Regions from separate parts of the Homo sapiens genome. Here region 2 is linked to region 1. Evidence: promoter capture Hi-C in human tissues and cell types (Jung and others, 2019). All regions are on one chromosome and are shown on one strand. The core of a region is centred on a gene start or on the middle of the fragment in contact, and the rest is flanking DNA. Distances in the headings are between cores, read along the strand shown. Region 1 holds the start of TAAR6 (trace amine associated receptor 6). Region 2 overlaps TAAR2 (trace amine associated receptor 2).

What was found. Contacts are between HindIII fragments. The study calls those that stand out against the background at their distance.
Region 2: a contact is called between a fragment that was not itself captured here and the fragment with the promoter of TAAR6 in region 1, in 1 of the 25 tissues and cell types used here (hippocampus).

The regions. Positions count from the first base shown.
Region 1 is chr6:132,568,966-132,571,665 of GRCh38, forward strand. It overlaps TAAR6 (trace amine associated receptor 6), which reads left to right and starts at 1,357. Exons shown (of 1, transcript NM_175067.1): 1 at 1,357-2,394. The coding sequence starts at 1,357. The coding sequence ends at 2,394. The HindIII fragment of the contact is 8,933 bases long and covers 1-2,700 here.
Region 2 is chr6:132,618,068-132,620,767 of GRCh38, forward strand. It overlaps TAAR2 (trace amine associated receptor 2), which reads right to left. Exons shown (of 2, transcript NM_001033080.1): 2 at 1-78. Among named protein-coding and RNA genes, the nearest start is that of TAAR2, 4.9 kb to the right of the region's middle. The HindIII fragment of the contact is 4,774 bases long and covers 1-2,700 here.

The DNA.
Region 1 (2,700 bases), core at 107-2,606:
GAAGCATCTGAAAACTACTTGGTTAAGAGTGTTAATTTTATTGAGTAGGAATCAGATAGCGAGATTGATTAATAATAATACTTATCACTCTTTATAACTTGAAAAGCAAGTTCACAAATGTCTCTAAAGTCACAGCCCTGTACTGGAAAGAGAGTTGAACCCTTCTTCAGGAAGACAATAATATAATAATAACAATATTTTCTTCACTCTGCAGTGTCTTTACATTCCAGGGTTGGGAACATTACTGAGGATTCTCTTCCCATTTTCCAGTTTCCTGTTCATTATTCTTATTTTTTTGACTGCTTTTAGCATCGGGAGCACAAAGGCCAGTCACCAGGAATTGCAAACAAATGCGTAGTCAGAGAGAGAGGGCTCACTGCCCATTTGTCATGTGGATGCAGACACATTGCAGATGTGTTCCCAGTAACAATGTCTTGAGAAGAGGACTGGTCTTTCCACCAGCATCTCAGAAATGCCGGTGTGTCTAAACAGCATGTCGTTCTTTAATGCTTTCATGCAATATATTTTATCAATCTCAAGTTCCCCTCACTATGTATTATAATAATTTCTGCTTGTTGGTAACCAATGCAGATGGAAAATTGATTCTTAACAGAAGAGAAAGAGCCAAGTATTGATGCTTACTATTTACACCCTATTGTATCTTTGTAACAAAAACCCGGGTGGCTAAGTTATGATTGGGAACAAGGGAATGGTTCAAGTCTATGCACTAAGGAAAAACAAATCTTTGGCCTAAAACAATAATGATAATAGAATTTAATATAGAGTAGAGACCTGTTTTGTAGAATAACTTTCCTAGTAATCACTGTTGAAAATAATCATACTAGTTCACACCGCGCACTACAGGGATTCCATCGAGGGATTTTCCCATTGAAGGCATTTATTTAGCTAAAAGGACTTCATCTTTAAGGCGGTAATGCAGGACAGATAACAGAGATAAAGATAACAGGAGGTGATCTTTCAGCTCCATAATTACATTCCATATCAGCGACTGTTGCACAGAGAAACTCAAAAGGTAAAAATAAAATATGAAAGGATATTTAAAATCAAAAGGAATTTTATCAAATTAAGAGCATGAGACATTTATCAGTTGAAACAATCTCCAATAATCTTGTGCAATATAATTTTTGTCAAATTTTATTTTGTCATAAACATTTGGGATTTATAATAAAAATGGAAACTTGAAAAATTATATTAGAGATAATATCTGATCATTTCCTCTGGCATCCTGGTGAATATGTGTTTTTTTCCGCAGGAGCACTGAAAATCAGGAACAATCCTGTATTTTTTGTGATAATCAACAAGGACAAAACTTCTCCATATGTAAATAACAGCGTTATGAGCAGCAATTCATCCCTGCTGGTGGCTGTGCAGCTGTGCTACGCGAACGTGAATGGGTCCTGTGTGAAAATCCCCTTCTCGCCGGGATCCCGGGTGATTCTGTACATAGTGTTTGGCTTTGGGGCTGTGCTGGCTGTGTTTGGAAACCTCCTGGTGATGATTTCAATCCTCCATTTCAAGCAGCTGCACTCTCCGACCAATTTTCTCGTTGCCTCTCTGGCCTGCGCTGATTTCTTGGTGGGTGTGACTGTGATGCCCTTCAGCATGGTCAGGACGGTGGAGAGCTGCTGGTATTTTGGGAGGAGTTTTTGTACTTTCCACACCTGCTGTGATGTGGCATTTTGTTACTCTTCTCTCTTTCACTTGTGCTTCATCTCCATCGACAGGTACATTGCGGTTACTGACCCCCTGGTCTATCCTACCAAGTTCACCGTATCTGTGTCAGGAATTTGCATCAGCGTGTCCTGGATCCTGCCCCTCATGTACAGCGGTGCTGTGTTCTACACAGGTGTCTATGACGATGGGCTGGAGGAATTATCTGATGCCCTAAACTGTATAGGAGGTTGTCAGACCGTTGTAAATCAAAACTGGGTGTTGACAGATTTTCTATCCTTCTTTATACCTACCTTTATTATGATAATTCTGTATGGTAACATATTTCTTGTGGCTAGACGACAGGCGAAAAAGATAGAAAATACTGGTAGCAAGACAGAATCATCCTCAGAGAGTTACAAAGCCAGAGTGGCCAGGAGAGAGAGAAAAGCAGCTAAAACCCTGGGGGTCACAGTGGTAGCATTTATGATTTCATGGTTACCATATAGCATTGATTCATTAATTGATGCCTTTATGGGCTTTATAACCCCTGCCTGTATTTATGAGATTTGCTGTTGGTGTGCTTATTATAACTCAGCCATGAATCCTTTGATTTATGCTTTATTTTACCCATGGTTTAGGAAAGCAATAAAAGTTATTGTAACTGGTCAGGTTTTAAAGAACAGTTCAGCAACCATGAATTTGTTTTCTGAACATATATAAGCAGTTGTATAGACGAAGTTCAGGATACCTTTAAAATTACCAAGCGAAATGAGTTTTTAAAAATCAAGTAAGACTATGAATGAATAGCAAATAAATTGCTCTTCAAATGAAAAACAAATCAATGTTTTTCAGTCTTGTTAAGATGTGCACTTTCCTGTCCCTTCTGCAAAAGTATTTACTTGGCTAACAAATGTTAAATTCCTATTTGTTAACTGCTTTAGAGCTCAGCATATCCCACTCCCTGCAGACACTTTTTGTCTTTTAATCCATTGACTCTTCCCTCTGCTCTGGTATTTTTCCTAAAAA
Region 2 (2,700 bases), core at 1-2,500, 49 kb after region 1:
CATAGCCACTCGGACACCCAGAGATCTTTCATTTTCTGGGCAAGATCTATTTCCATATTCAGAGCAATTGAATTTTTCCTTCAAAAAACAAGAACAGATAGAATTTTGTCAGAATATAAATATTCTATGTTTTATATATGCTTTCATAGAAAAACTCAAGAAAGGCAGAGAAGAATCAAGGAAGATAATTTATGCTGTAATATTACTCATGATCTTTCCCATTTACTTATTTTAATCTTTATTTGTAATTTTGTAGAATTGTAACCTAATTGGCTTAAAAGATCATTATTGGCCAGGTGCGGTGGCTCACGCCTGTAATCCCAGCACTTTAGGAGGTCGAGGCAGGGGGAGCACTGAAGGTCAGGAGTTTGAGACTAGCCTGGCCAACATGGTGAAACCCCATCTCTACTAAAAATACAAAAAGTAGCCAGGCATGGTGGCATGTGCCTGTAATCCCAGCTACTCGGGAGGCTGAGGCAGCAGAATCGCTGGAACCCAGGAGGTGGAGGTTGCAGTGAGCCGAGATTGTGCCACTGAACTCCAACTTGGGAGACAGAGAGAGACTCCATCTCGAGAAAAAAAAAAAATCATTATTTACTCCATACTTTCCTCTATACTACCAACATTTAGGAAGCTCTTACTTTATGCCAGGCTTTGAAATTTAAAAGAAGAAAAAACAAATTATTGAGCTGTATCTTACGTGTGTAGGAAGAATAGATATCTATTAGACAATACATGTACTTCTTCCTCCAAGGAGTCAGAAATATATAATCAGATTTGATTTGATTGTGATCTATTACCTGTGGGATCAGGAGGTTATTATTTGAAAACAATTTCATTCTTGTGTTCTATTATTTTCACTGTGCTGTGTTTTGTTTTATTCATACGAATGTTGTTTTAAGGGGGAAGAATCATCTAATGACCTCTAATTATCTGGTAGAGTCAATCTATAAGGCAAATCATGAATTCTTAACAAGCATGGCATCAGCCAAAGCAGCTAAGTCAGAGGTGGGCACAGACCAAAGCTGGACCACCCTCAGTTACTTGTGAAGAGCAAGTGTAACTCAGAGCCCTATGCAATGACAGCTTGACAAGTTGCCATGCGTAGGCCACACACAAGGCTATGAGCAGAGGGCTAGAGAACTTTTAGAAAGCAAGCCATCTCTACTACAAGAAAATTAAGCCCATGCCCTCCTTGTGTTGGGCCAGAATGCTCATTTTACATATTAAAATCTGCATGTTATTCTTTCCATATATATTTGAAATGTAACACGTTCATGAGTTAGAATGATTTTCTTTTTAAAAAGTACATTAGGTAAAAAAGAGCTGCCTATATGCAAAGCATAACTCTTAATATTGAAGAAATGCCTTTGGCCTTCAGTGACCTCACACATATCAGACCTTACCAGTTACCAAGAGATAAACAAATAAATTACCAGCCTCTGTGATATAAGAGTGTATCACAAAGAGAGTAAGACATTTTTCTTGAATGTCCACAATATGAAAGATACAAGGAAAGGAAGAAGAAAGCATGAAGGTCAACCCTGCAGCAGAGATTCTACAATGCAGCTGAAGAGACAAAGCACATCAACACTTAAAACCTACATGATTCTGCACCTCAGATGAAAGCAACAGCGGCGATCACCTGACCAAAAAGAGATCCAGGCAAAATGTACAATCCAAGATCAAAAATGGACAAGATCTTTTCAGGCTGGACTGCACAGGAATGTTCCAGCAAGGATATGACTTTTGATCTGGGTCTCAATGGGTGAGTAGGATTTGAACAGAAGAGAAAAAGCCTGTTCTACACAGAAGGTATGATGAAGAAAAGACACAAGGCTGTATGTGTTCCGAGACCTTCTAAAAGGAATTCTCAGGGACCCCTAAAACACCGCAGAGAGAATACAAGGTGGAGGGGAGTATAGAGGGAGAGAAGAAAGTGCTTCTAGTTTCATTGTTGTTCCTCAAGCCAGTGTTCTTAGCCAGCATTAGTCAAAAGAGATTTCCCATTTTGTTCTTAAATTTGGGTAATGATTTTTTTAAATTAAAGTAATTAAGTTAGTTACAAGAGAGTGAGTACAGATTTGAAATTAAAAGCTTCCTCCAACTGATGCCAAGTGGCGACTCCAAGGCAGTTTTCTCCTCGTTATTCTTCCTCCTCAGGGGCCTCGTCCCCACTTGCAGAGAACTAATGGCCTGGTGTATGATGGGACGTATTTGAGCAATAGAACTAAACATCTTTATATCTGCCACCTGGGTGATTGCATACCACAAAATAGAAACACTACCAAACTGCATTTGAGGTCTCTGCCGACGCCCTAAATGCTGTTTACAGAAACAGCTGACTTATTCATGAAAGAGTTTCATCAGAACAGTTTTATCCAGATCTGTCTAAAATGTGTACAACCAGTTCTTAAACTATATTCATTTTTAACAGCTGAAATGGGGGTTTCTAACCAAATACTGCATGCTCTCACTTATAAGTGGAAGCTAAACGATGAGAACTTATGAACACAAAGAAGGAAACGACAGACACTGGGGTCTACTTGGGGCCAGAGCGGGGAGGAGGACGGGAGGAGGGAGAAGAGCAGAAAAGATAACTATTGGGTACTGGGCTCAATACAGGGGTGATGAAATAATCTGTACAACAAACCCCATGACACGAGTTTGCGTATGTAACAAACCTTCACATGTACCCCC